2 separate regions of the Homo sapiens genome follow, and region 2 is linked to region 1. The links are contacts of gene promoters, found by promoter capture Hi-C in blood cells and fetal thymus (Javierre and others, 2016). All regions are on one chromosome and are shown on one strand. Each heading gives the region's core, a stretch centred on a gene start or on the middle of the fragment in contact. The rest is flanking DNA. Distances are from core to core; before and after follow the strand shown.

Evidence for each region. Contacts are between HindIII fragments. The CHiCAGO score rates a contact against its expected background, and 5 or more counts as called.
Region 2: a fragment that was not itself captured here is called in contact with the fragment with the promoter of SELP in region 1 in 1 of 17 cell types (non-activated CD4 T cells); the score reaches 6.6 in non-activated CD4 T cells.

What each region holds. Positions count from the first base shown.
Region 1 is chr1:169,626,350-169,633,605 of GRCh38, reverse strand. SELP (selectin P) reads left to right here and starts at 3,482. Exons shown (of 17, transcript NM_003005.4): 1 at 3,482-3,534. The coding sequence starts at 3,532. The HindIII fragment of the contact is 5,122 bases long and covers 1-3,794 here.
Region 2 is chr1:168,523,195-168,530,450 of GRCh38, reverse strand. No RefSeq gene overlaps it. Among named protein-coding and RNA genes, the nearest start is that of XCL2, 17 kb to the left of the region's middle. The HindIII fragment of the contact is 3,645 bases long and covers 1-3,433 here.

The sequences.
Region 1 (7,256 bases), core at 2,233-4,732:
TGCATGGAGGGACCACAGCACCAGATTCAATTGTAGCAATGGTACCAGTGCCCAAGGCACAGGCATACTTACTATCACATTGATAATGGTGTGTAAAATGCAGGTACTTATAAAGCAGCTAAGGAGCCAGGGACTTTACTGCATGCATACGCAGAGCTACAGTGGCTCCAGGATCCAGGGTGTGGGCTAGCTCTCCTTGGTGGCTGAGCTGGTGACTAGAGCATGGACAGGCACAGAGAAACCTTGACTCTAGGACCCAGGGTGTTCACTAGCTCACTATAGTGGTGGCTCTGGTGTTGGAGGTGTGGGTGTGTGTAGTACAGCCTCAGAGACAGGGTCTGGAGCGCAGGTGTGCACATTACTACAGCAGCTCTGGAGTTGAGAATATGGGTTACCTTTCTACAGTGGCTGAACTAGTGTCTGGAGCAAAGACTTTCACAGAGAGAACTTGGCTTGGGGTCCCAGGGTGAGATCTAGTTCACAACAGCAGTGACTCCAGTGTCTGAGACATGAGGAGGTGCACTGCAGCCACAGAGCCACAGTCCAGAGTGTGAATATCTGTAGAGCAGCCACAACTTTTGGGGATCAGGAACACACATAGACTTGTGAGAGGTGGTAACCCTGGCCCCAGTCCTGGGGCAGTGCAACAATAGCTGCTTCTTGGTGAGGGGGTGTGAGGGGTAGTGCAACTGTGTTTCCCTTTTTAGCATCCTGCTATGGGAATGGCTGTTGGATAAAAGATGCCAGTGTCCTCTGTGGAGCAGGACACTGGGGGCCTCAGTGGCTCTGTGTCACATGACTGACACAGATAGCCTACAAATTTCTTTATTCGTAGCTATCTCCTGGTGTCTCATATATGCCAGTCTCACCGGTGATTCTTCTACATGGATATTCTTTCTTTTCTCCATTGTGTTGTTCCAAATTCTTTAACAGGCTCTTGAGCCCCATCCCCCAACTCCCCACCCTTGTGAGGGCTATTTTGGTTTGTGTATAACTGTCTATGTTTGTTTTTTTGTTGGGGCATAAGGCTGACATCTCCTACTCCACCATCTTGCTAATGTCACCTGCATAGGAATCTTTTTATGCTTTCCTTATATTCACTAAAATTTAACAATATCAAACTTAAAAACATATGATCAATTGAACTTATTAATATCAAACTTATTATAAATAAGAAACTACCAGGCTGGGCATGGTGGCTCATGCCTGTAATCCCAACATTTTGGGAGGCTGAGGTGAAAGGATCACTTGAGCCCAGGAATTCAAGACCAGCCTGGGAAATATAGAGAGACCCTATCTCTAGAGATTTTTTTTTTTAATTAGCCAGTAGTGATGGCACACATCTATAGTCCCAGCTACTCAGGAGGCTGAGGTGGGAGAATTGCTTGAGCCCAGGAGGTCAAGGCTGGAGCAAGCAGTAATCATGCCACTGCACTCCAGCCTGGGCCGCAGAGTGAGACCCTGTCTCAAAAAAAGAACCTACTAGTCTACATACCACACTTCCTCATCCCCATCTGAGACTATATATATTTTTTCTAACATGAGGCAATGCCAAAAAGAGGGGCTGGTGAGTGAAAGTAAGAACAGAAAGACATGGAGGCAAGTCTTATAGAATAATAGCCAACACTTAAACTTACACTTAACAGCGTGATAGGTATTGTTCCAAACACATTAAATTCATTTAATGGTCCTTACATGTCTATGTATTTGGTGATTATTATCCTTATTATTCACATTGCTGAGTGTATTATTCTGTTCTCATGATGCTGATAGAGACATACCCGAGACTGGATAACTTATTAAAAAAAAAAAGGTTTAATGGACTCACAGTTCCACGTGGATGGGGAGTCCTCACAATCATGGTAGAAAGCAAAAGACACGTCTTACATGGCAGCAGGGAAGAGAGAGAAATGAGAACCAAACAAAAGGGGTTTCCCCTTATAAAACCATCAGCTCTCATGCGACTTATTCACTACCATGAGAACAGTATGGGGGAAACCACCCCCATGATTCAATGATCTACCAGGTGCCTCCCACAACCTGTGGGAATTATGGGAGCTACAATTCCAGATGAGATTTGGGTGGGGACACAGCCAAACCACATCACTGAGGAAACTGAGTTATAGGGAGATTAGTAACGCCCAACACAGCTGGTAGGTGGTGGAGCCAGGCAGTCTGACTCTAGGGTCTGGACTCTGAACTGCATCATGCTGCCAAGAAGTTCCTCATTTTTTCCTCTCTCTAAGTTTCCCTTATTCCCCTACAGTCATTCCTTCAACAGCATTTCCTTCACCATCTTTTCTACTTCTACTATATAATTAATTTTTTCTTCTTGGTCCCAAATTCCAACGTGCAAATGCAGCCTTATATACCCTAATTCATCTTTACCTTTAGACTTTCTTCCAATGTTTCTACTTCATTCCATTTTAAATTTATCCATGAGATGCCTATTTACAAGCTGTAACCATCATGAAGTGAATGAAGAATAATACCTACTACTGTACAATAGAATTCCAAGAGTATAAATAGGAGTTATGGCTTTCTGACTTGAAACTAAATACTTGATACTTGATTTTGCTGTCTGAGATCAATCTGAAAAGTAATAATAATCACTAACATTTGTTGAGCATCAATTGTGGGCCAAGTGTCATTTCAATCACTCTGTACATATTAACTCATTTCATCCTACAACAACCCGGTGAGGCAAGTTCTGTTATTCTGTTTTACAGTTGAGGAAACAGAGGCATAGAGAGCTTAAGTAGTTTGCCCAGTAGATAGCCAGAAGAGGAGCCAGGATGGGTCTCGGGCAGTTTAACAGCACAGCTGAAGTCTTAACCACTATGCCAACAGCTTTTTGGTCCTACACATCCCATGGGAAGAGGAAAATAAAAAGGTATCTATTTGTATACCTTTTTATTTCTGATATAAGAAGCAGAATTCCTTTCACATGACCTATGTCTATTTAATACGTCATTTTGAAACTTACCAATAAAATTTCCCAAGCGCCAGAAAACTGTTAGTGGCTTTTTCCATTTCTCTCTATTTTTTTTTGTGCTACTAATTTTGCTTCTTTCCCTCAGAAGGCTGCCGGAATAGTAAACATTCACTGACATGTCATAATTACTGGAAAATGGGCACTGGAAAATCACATTGTAATTAATTCAAAGCATGTTTTCCAAATGTACTACTTTAAATTGGAGCTTATATCATAATCCAAGGAAACCTTTGTGTGTGTACTGTTCCCACATTGCTCAGCCTGGGATATCCAGGAGTAATTCACCTTGCGCCTGCCTCCAGACCATCTTCCATGGAAGGGGGTGACCCCTTGCCTCTTGGCAACCACTATTTCTAAGCTGCCAACATTACTCTTGCATTATCAACATTCTAACTTCATGGGAAGGGCTGTGGTGAGTTTCTGGAATGTGAATAGGAAGTTGTTTTTCTAAACAGCCTGACACTGAGGGGAGGCAGTGAGACTGTAAGCAGTCTGGGTTGGGCAGAAGGCAGAAAACCAGCAGAGTCACAGAGGAGATGGTGAGTTTATTTTTTTCTGCATGGGAAGTGGTTGAAGTGAGTTGGAGTGGTATGGAGTAAAGTCAGGCAGGTAAAGGTTCAGAAAGTGAGGAACAGCGATAGCCATGGAGTTTTATGTTGAATTGCCTATTAGATTTTGTGAGTACTTTTAAACTTGCTGTCCACTTTGACCCTCCCAACACCCTTGTGAGTTGAGGTTGCTATTTCTATTTTACAAATAAAGCCATCGTGGTTTACAGAGGCTGTGTTTTATCTAAGCTTCACTGTTAGGCTACATGATGTTGGGATCTGGGGCCTGTCCTCTGGCTCCGCAGCTGCTGTTCCTCCTACTAGAATTTATAGGGGCTCTCTGAGAATAGATCATGGTAAACCTGTCACCCCATTTTCCAAGACTGTACTTCTCTCTGGGATAAATGATGGAATAAATGGAAGACTGGGTAGGTGCCCTGGGACAAGCTTACAATTGAATAGTTTCTCATCCCCATCCCTCCCATTTCTTTCTGTGAGCCTATGAATCTTCTGGGACTGATCTGGAATATCCACATAGTTTCCTTTTCTGCCCTAAGACTCAATCTTGTTAATGACTCAGTTTCTTCTTCTATAAAATGGATATAGTAATAATACTCTATAGTTTCATCATGAGGATTAAATAAGATTTTGCTGAAAAGCATCCAGATCTGAGCCTGACACATAGTAAGTGATTAGTAAATGTTAGCCATTATTGTTACAATAAAAAGAAAATTCTTAGGAATAGTGGGGTTTAGGATTCAGGGAAGATCCAAGGATAGCTAGGCATTTTGAACTCAGCAATGTTATATGCTCATGGATAAGATGCACGTGGTTAGGCTACTTCTAATTCAGGGAAGATCCAAGGATAGCTAGGCATTTTGAACTCAGCAATGTTATATGCACCTAGATAAAATGCACATGGTTAAGCTACTTCCAATTTTCCTCAGACTTTCCAAGAGTATCCCACATAGTCCCAGGGTCCGAAATCCTGCAGTCTGTGGCTATGGAGGAACCAGGCAGGTCTCTGTTTTTGAGCACCTTTCTGTGGGACTCCAGAAAAAAGTACCGCATACACCTGATTCATCCTACTGCTTTGCTTTACTATAGCACACTTTTCAAGTACTTATAATGTGGGTTTCTGTGTTGGGGAAAACAGGAATAAGAGTATGATAAAGAGAAGAGGAAGGAGTTTGAGCCTGTCTTAAGTTTGAACCACAATGACCTAAGGATATGAATTACTTTTGTCCTGTCTTTTTGCATGTCATACTTCTGAATTGGTTAACTTAAATGAGCAGTTATTCCTCTCTTCCTTCTACTCTCCTTGGCATCCTCCTCTATTTCAAAGGTATGAACTTATTGGATCAGAGAGTTCTTTGAGATTTTGATGAAAGTTACAACTTGTCTTTCCCAGATGAAAGCAAAAACATCGACATAAACACCAACCTTTAGAGACAACCACAGGAGGTTCCCAGACCTCCATGTGGATCCCAGGGTAAGAACCCTTCTCGATTGCCTCCTGGGCTTTATGTTCAGAAGCCCCTCTCTTGGTACCCTGAAATTAGGCTTGAGCTCTACAGCGAAGTGCTAAGGCCCCAGCCCTGGAATGGTTTTTAATATTTCAAAGACAAGACCTCTTCCTTTTCCTCTGAGCACATTTGGCCCCAAAGATTCAGAAACCTCAAACTGCCTGTGTAAATTTTGCTTCAAGTTCAGAGAGTGGCTTTAATTAACTTTTAGGACCTGAGAAAATGAGGATAAGGTTTTTCTGGTGGGGTATTTTCAATCAGATAGATCTCAGAGGAGTAGCTCTTGATTGGGAACTTATAGTTAAATTGCACTGATGTTTGTCAAAGTTTTAGCGGGCTATGGCCGGGCTCAGTGGCTCATGCCTGTAATCCCAGCACTTTGGGAGGCCGAGGCGCATAGATCACTTGAAGTCGAGAGTTCAAGAGCAGCCTGGCCAACATGGTGAAACACCATATTTACTAAACTTACAAAAACTGGCTGGGCATGTTGGCATGTGCCTGTAATCCCAGCTACTCAGGAGGCTGAGGCAGGACAAACTCTTGAACCCAGGAGGTGGAGGTGGCAGTGAGTTGAGATCACACCACTGAACTCCAGCCTGGGTGACAGAGCAAGACTTGTCTCAAAAACAAAACAAAAAAAAAGTTTTAGTGGGCTAAGGAGCAGGTCTGGATTTTCGTCCATTTATACCTTTTAACCACCTTATGTGGCTTCCAGTCCTTACTCTTCTTTTCATTACCTGTTTTTCAAAATGCAACTAAAATAGTTCAGACTCTCCTGGGCTAGCCACCAGCTCTTAGAATGTGCATCTTCAGAGATCTTTAAGTAGAAGCTTATTGATCAAATCCTCAAAAATCAAAATGACTTACTACATAAAAAACTGTGTTTAGAAAAAACCCTGGACCTAAACCTAGAGAGTAGGCACACAGTGGTTTTATAAATGACATTCATTATATTGTCTTCAAGGTGTCTAATCTTTTTGATTAAAAAGTAAATCAGAAACTTCATGAAGTCAAATACAGAGCAAATCCTCACTATTTGTAGAGATATAACTCATCTCTGATCCAATAGACTTTTTAAAAAATTTTAAGTGTCGTACTTTATTTTTAATGCTAATATTTTACTCAAAATAATGGCAATTGGTAGTCTAAATTAAATATATGCTTGGATTCTAAGTGTTGATGTCCTGGGTCCCTTCTTGTCTATATTCATAATTTGCTCTTTGGCTTAGAGACAACCTCTTTTCTCACTGTATTTCTTTTTCCACCCCTAAGCTGGGCTACCAATATCTGTGCCACACCACTAACACCACCACCGTCCAGAAACATAAGGGAACTAATGTATTAGCTGTAATAGCTTGTAACATCTGGGCTTTGCTACCAACAAGTTGTATAGTTCTGCATCCTCAACAACTCTCATATTCACCTCCCCTATTTGCATTCCCACTGATGCCAGACCAAACCTGTCCCTCTTTAACTCTCACTGGGACCATTGCAATAGCCTCTTCTTTTGCAGTGCAATCTCCCTGATTGTAACTCATTTAAAAAAAAAAAAGTATCGCACTACTCTCACCCCTATAATATCAGCATTTTTGGAGGCCAAAGAAAAAGTATTGCTTGAGCCCAGGGGCTCCAGGCCAGCCTGGGCAATATAGTGAGAACTTATCTCTACAAAAAATTAGCCGGGTGTGGTGATGCATGCCTGTAGTCCCAGTTACTCAGGAGGCTGAGATGGGAAGATCACTTGAGGCCAGGAGGTGGAGGTTTCAGTGAACCCAGATCATGCCACTGCACTTCAGCCTGGGCAACAGAGCAAGACCCTGTCCCCCAGCCCCACAAAAAAAATCATACCACCATTAAGTGCATGTGTTCATGATACTTCTCTGTTCAGAAGTATCCCTTCTGCCAACTGGTATTTGTGACCCACAAGATATGGTCTCAAACTACCTTTTCAGTTAACCTCTAGGATCTCCCAATCTTCAGCAGGCTGGAGTGCAGTAGTGCCATCTCAGCTCACTGCAACCTCTGTCTCCTGGGTTCAAGCGATTCTCCTGTCTCAGCCTTCTGAGTAGCTGGGATTACAGGCATGCGCCACCATGCCCAGCTAATTTTTGTATTTTTTAGTGGAGTTGGTTTCGCCATGTTGGCAAGGCTGGTCTTGAACTTCTGACCTCAAGGGATCTGCCTGCC
Region 2 (7,256 bases), core at 362-2,861, 1.1 Mb after region 1:
AAGTCAGCCTAGAGCACTGGTTCTCAATCTTTTTAAAAAAAAAATCACCGGGTGATCCTGACACGTCTCCCTACTCTGCACCCCCCTCCTCCACCACTTGAGAACCCTTAAAGGGTTAAGATTTTCTACACACCAATTCTGAAGGTCCTCCTTGCAGCTTACACAAACCTAAACAGAGAACAGAGGAATGATTCTTCTCAATCTTGAGGGGCAAGTTTCCTTGTTAGATTTATGCCCCATCCCCCGACCCCCCACCACTCCGATTGAGGACTTTGATGACAACATGTACAGCAATAAGGCCTTTTGGGGATTTGTATTGTCACCAATAGTTATTTATTGGTTCATGTCATCAGTTGAGGAGAAAGTAAATTTGATAATAGTGTCTTTCTTTACATATTTTTTAAAACACAGAAAATGTTTTCAATTTGAAGAAAAATACAGAGAATAAAATAGCAAATATCAATGTACTTTCTACTCAGAATTAGCAATTGACACTGTGCCTTATTTGCTTCAGATATTTTGTAAAGTAATACAAGATCTACATCCTTTAGGATCTACATCCCCCATCCTATTTCCTGTCCTCCCTGGGCAGAGGCAAGCACTATCCAGCAGTTGATGGATGTTTTTATTGTTTGTGTTTTATGTTTTGCTCCTAATGGCATGGTATCAGAATTCTTATTTCCCCTGTCCTCCCAAAACTTGATATTGCTAGTCTTATGTTTTTGCCAATCTGATCATTGTGAAATAGTGTCTCATTGTTTTCACTTGCATTTCCCTAATTACTAGGAAGTTTGAGCATTTTTCATATATTTGGGTTGGCCATTCAAACTTCCTTTTCAGTGAATGGTCCTTTCGTATGTTTTGTCCATTTTCCCACTAGGTTGTTAGATTTTTCTTATTGATGTTTAATAATTCTTTAATATTCTGGATACAAATCCTATAGATTTTTTTTTTTTTGAGACAGAGTCTCACTCTATTGCCCAGGCTGGAGTGCAGTGACTCGATCTCAGCTCACTGCAACCTCTGCCTCCTGGGTTCAAACAATTCTCCTGCCTCAGCCTCCTGAGTAGCTGGGACTACAGGCACATGCCACCACCCCCAGCTAATTTTTGTATTTTTAGTGGAGACAGGGTTTCACCATGTTGGTCAGGCTGGTCTCAAACTTCCGACCTCAGATTATCCTCCCACCTCAGTCTTTCAAAGTGCTGGGATTACAGGCATGAGCCACCAAGCCCGGCCTATTTTCTTAGTTATATGGAAGTAATGGAGAAGTTTTAAATTGAAGTTTTCAAACTATTTGATGTTTTTCTTTGTCATTTATCATTGTGTAACATAAAAGTATAACATCAAAGTATTATATTTTGATTGAAAGGTTTTTCATATTTAGCCACTTTATCTGGAATTTTTTTTGAAGTATAGTATGAAGTAAGGATCTATTTTTATATTTTTCAGTATGGAAAGGTAGTTTTCTCTATACATTTATAGCTAATCCAGTATTTTTCAGACTCTATATTTGTAATATATTAATGGGGCTTTTTTTAAATTAGTGGATTGTAACTACCATTTTTTAAAAAACTAAATTATATAGAAAATATTAGACTACATTTCATATAGTAAAGGTAAACAGTGTTTACAGAACACATACACACATATGCTTTGGTTGAGTACTGAAACATAAAATAAAATATATTTTTTTCTGTGGGTTATGACTGAAAACGTTTAGAGTACACTAAAAAATGTCAATTATTTCTCCCATTTATTTGTTACAACATTTCTATGATATATCATGGTCTTATATGTGATTAGGTTTGCTTCTGACCTATCTATTCAATTCTGTGGACTTTATTTAATATAGTGCTATTATCATGGTATTTTATTTGTATGGCCTGTTAACATCTTCTTCATGTTATCCTTTAAACTAGTCTTGATTTCTTGACTATCTTTCCATGTGAATTTTAGATACTCTTTGCCTAAATAAAACAAAACTTTTATATTTTGATTAAAGCTGTTTTGAATATATTCATTAGTTTGAGGAGAATAGACGTATTTATAATATTAAATCTTGGTCTAACTTTCCTTGATTTGGGTTTATTTTTACATCCTCCAATATTTTCTGTGTGGGTTTTGTTCACGTTTAGGTATATATTTAACGAACACTTATATGTACCAAGCCACTATTCTAAGCACTTCATAAATCATTAATTCATTTAAGACTCACAACAATCTTATGAAATATAACAATTATTTTCCCCCATTCTATTGTCATGTTACAAATAAGGAAACTTAAGCACAGAGAGGTTAACTAATTTTCTTAAGGTCACACATCTGGAAAGTATAACAATCAGAATTTGAATCCAGGCAACTCGGTCCCAGAGTTCTTGTGCTCATCCAATACGGCATGCCGTCTCTCCAAACATTTTGTCAGATTTATTTCTAAGTACCTCATTGCTTTAATGAAAACAATAGCCAAATTGATCGGGATGTTTATCTCTGTGGTCAATTTTTATAATAATTCTATAAATAAATATTTCTTATGTGTTGAGTGTAAATTTTAATATATGAGATCAAGGTTGTTACTTGCACTGATATATTTTATACATGTATTTCTTCGCAATGTTTTATCTGCGTGATCTGGAAAAGATGTGTTGAAATTCCTTACTATGATTCTGGATTTGTCAATTTCTCCATATAATGCTCGTGTGTGTGTGTGTGTGTGTGTGTGTGTGTGTGTGTGCACGCGTGCATGCGCACACGCATGCACGTGCATACCAATTTTATTAGATGCATATGGGTTCACAGCTGTTACATGTTTAGACACTTTTCCCACCACTTTTCATGCAGTAAAATCACTTTGTATACCTTTAACTATTTCTTTCCTCAAATTCAGTTTTGTTTGATAGTCAAAATACAGTGATGTTTTAAAATGTGGACTTTGAAGACAAATGGCGTGGCTTGGATTCCAGCTTGGCACTTGCCAACTACATGACCTTAGCACTAACCACAGTGCCTGGCTCTAGAAATGTTGGTTGTTGCTAGACTGCTATTGTTTTCTAGACTTTTATTTGCTAGGTTACTGGCACGTCTTTTCCAATCTTTGTCTTTCAACTTATTTTTATCATTACGTTTTTAAAAGTGTGTTTGTAAGTAGCAAATAGCTGAATTTTTAATCTACTCTTTTAATAGATAGGGTTACTCTATTTATATTGTGATTATTGACAAACATTTTTTATATCAAGAGCTGACAAATTATGGCCCATGGGAAAAATGTAGCCCAGCGTGTGCTGTTGTATATAATATTTTAGTGAAACATAGCCACTCTCAGCCATCTAGGATGGTTGCTTTTATCCTTCAACCAGTAAAGCTGAATCGTTGCAATAAGGATATTACCTACAAAGCCAAAATAATTTATTATTTGGCCTTTTACAAAAAAGCTTGCTGACCCCAGATTTACACCATCTTACTTTTTCTTTTAGACATGATTTCTTCTATTTTTTCCCCCTTGTCCCATATTCATTGGGTGAATCAAGTCATATTTACTGTCTTAGTTTCCCTCTACTAATTTAAAGGTTATACATTCTATTTCTAGTCTTTTAGTGGTCATTCTTACGTTTTAACATGAATATTTTTGTTTTTAAAATTACTTTATTGAGATGTAACATACAATAACTTGCACATAAAGTGTACAATTTGATAGATTTTGACATATATATATATATACCCATGAAGTTAAAATCAAGAAAATAAACATATCCATCACTCCCAAAAGTTTTCTCATGCATAACCCTCCTTCTCATCCTTCCCTGCCCCCACGTCCCCAAACTACAAATGATTTGCTTTCTGCAAGTATAGATTAGTTTGCATTTCCTAGAGTTTAGTATAAATTGACTCATACCTTATACACTCTTGTTTCTGACTTTTTTCACTCAGGTGTTTTGTTTGTTTGTTTGTTTGTTTTGAAACGGAGTCTCGCTCTGTCGCCCAGGCTGGAGTGCAGCGGCGCGATCTCGGCTCACTGCAAGCTCCACCTCCCAGATTCACGCCATTCTCCTGCCTCAGCCTCCCGAGTAGCTGGGACTACAGGTGCCCGCCACCACGCCTAGCTAATTTTTTTTTTTTTTTTTTTTTTTTTTTGTATTTTTAGTAGAGACGGGTTTCACCATGTTAGCCAGGATGGTCTCGATCTCCTGACCTCGTGATCCGCCCACCTTGGCCTCCCAAATTGCTGGGATTACAGGTGTGAGCCACCAAACTGGGCCCACTTGATATTATTATGAGCATGGAATTGTTGCATGTATTTGTAGTTCATTTCTTTTTTTTTTTATTTTAGTATATATTGCCATAACAACAAATAAGGACATTTTCACCCAACCACAATCATACTGTTACCCATAACAAAATTAATAGTAATTTCTTAACATTATTGAATACAAAAGTCTTTATTCAAATTCCCCTATTAGTAATCAAAATGTTTCTGCAGGTTGTTTTCCTTTTTTTTTTTTATCTTTTAAATTTTACTTTAAGTTCTGGGATACATGTGCTGAACGTGAAGGTTTGTTACATAGTATACATGTGCCATGGTTTGCTGCACCTATCAACATGCCATCTAGGTTTTAAGCTACGCATGCCTTAGATGTTTGTCCTAATGCTCTCGGTCTCCTTTACCCCCACTTCCCGACAGACCCTGGTGTGTGATGTTCCCCTCCCTGCGTCCATGTTTTCTCATTGTTAGTTCATTTCTTTTTATTGCTTAGTAATATTCTGTTGTATGGATAAACCACAATTATTTAACCACTCATCTGTTGATGGAAATCTGTGTATTTTCCACTTTGAGACTATTAAAAATAAAGCTGCTATAAATATACAGGTATTGATATTGACATATTTTCTTTTTCTCTTGGGCAAAAACCTAGAAGTGGAATCACTGAATTATATTGTGGGTGCATGTTTAACTTTTTAAAAATTGTCTGTTTTCCAAAGTCGTACCATTTATATTACCACCATCAATGTGTCGGAGTTCCAGTTTTTCTACATTCCTGTCAAGACTTGATGTGGTCAGTCTTTTTAATTTTAGCCACTTATTAGGTAGGTAGTGGTATTTCATTGTGGTATCAATTTGCATTTTCTTAATAGCTACTGATCACACCCCTTTTCATGTGCTTATTTGTCATCGTTATGTCTTCCTTAGTGAAGTAGCTGTTTAAATCTTTTACCCATTGAGGGAGAGAGACACTTGTTTTGTTTATTTGTTTTATTCAACAAGCATATTGGCTTAAGAAAATCTACATATTAGTGAATCCTCTATAGTCCTCCCTGCTAAGACAAGAATTTTAGAACTTTTACTTCTAGTCTTAAAAGTTCCATCTTCTGTGCCATCACAGTATAATATTTTAGTTCTACCTAGTTTTTAACCATTTGTCTTAAAAATAATTAATCCCTTTTGTACATCTGTACTTAATTTGGAATTACCTGCATAACACCAGTTTTTTAGCCTCAGTTGTTCCTAACATCCCAATCCCTCCTTCAGGTTTAATTTTTTTTCTCCAGGAGTAATATTTATTAGTTCTTTCACTGAAGTAACTAGGAAATTAAGTTTTTGTATCTCTGAAAATGTCACTATTTGCCTCACATTTGTATGCTTATGTAACCGTGTGACTCCAGGTTGACATAAACATTTTATTCTCATTTTGAAGACATCTTTTTATAATATTGATATAGTTTGGATGTTTGTACCTGCCCAAATCTCAGTTGAATTGTAATCCCCAATGCCAAAGGTGGGCCTGGTTGGAGATGTGTGGATCATGTGGGCAGATCCCTCATGGCTTGGTGCTGTCTTCATGATAGTGAATTCTGGTGAGATCTCATTGTTTAAATGTGTGTGGCACCTCTCCCCACAAACACTCTCTCACAAACTCTCTCTCTCTCTCTCTCTCTCTCTCTCCATTCTTGCCACATTATGTGCCTGCTCCCCCTTTGCCTTCTGCCATGATTGGAAGCTTCCTGAGGCCCCCCTTAGAAGCAGATGCCACTGTGCTTCCTGAACAGCCTGCCAATTAGATCTCTTTTCTTATAAATTTCCCAGCCTCAGGTATTTCTTTATAGTGCTTCAAGAATTACCTAATACAGATATCAACTAGTGTTTATTGTTTTTATAAAAAATCGTTGCTTGTGAAATTTTTTGTTATTTTCTAAGAAATGTATCTTTTCTTTCTAGTAGCTTTTAAGAATTTTCCCTCTGTCTTTGATGTTTTCCACTTCTACTACAATATGTCTGGGTGTAGAAATTTTTAAATTCATTCTGCTTGGAACTGAATGCATTTCTTCAATCTGAAAACTCATCTCTCATCAGTTTTGTTAAATTCTCAGCCATCATCACTGATATTTCTTCTCCTTTATTGCATCTAGTCTCTCTGTCTGGAGCTCCTATTAGAAATATGTTGGACCTTCTCATTCTATCTTCCATCTTTCTTAACCTCTCTTCTACATTTTCCACATTTTCCTTACCTGTTCTGTATTCTAACTAATTTCTTCAGAGCTAAATTCCTATTTGCCTATTTTCTTTTCAAATATGTCTAGTTAATGTTTAATCTGTCTGTTGAGGTTTCTTTAAATTATCATTCTCAATATGTTTGTTTAGCTCTTTCTAATTTTTTTCTTTATATCCTTTACTTCATTTTTTTTAAATTTTTTTTCTTTTTTTTAGACAGGGTCTTGCTCTGCCATTCAGGCTGGAACACATTGGTGCAATCTTGGCTCACTGTAACCTCCACCTCCCAGGCTCAAGTGATTCTCCTGCTTCAGCCTTCTGAGTAGCTGGGACTACAGGGCACACCACCATGCCCAGCTAATTTTTTGTATTTTTAGTAGAGACAAGGTTTCACCATGTTGGCCAGGCTGGTCTCAAACTCCTGACCTCAGGTGATCTGCCCGCCTCGACCTCCCAAAGTGCTGGGATTACAGGCATGAGTCACCACGCCCAGCCCATTTACTTTAATATTTTAACTGTTGTTATTTTAAAAATAACTCCCTGCAGACTTCTCTATTTTCTATGTTCTGTATTTCCTCGCATTTTGTTTTCTCATTTACTGGGTTTGTCATCTCTTCCTCTCTCTCTCTCTCTCTCTCTCTCTCTCTCTGTTTCTCTCTCCCTGTTGGTCATGGGGTTCTATCTATATTGTGTACTTTATGTAAGTAAGTGAACTTTCTGACTTATGCTTTCTTCTGAAGGAGCGCCCTCTCTTGCTGTCTGTGGTAAAGAG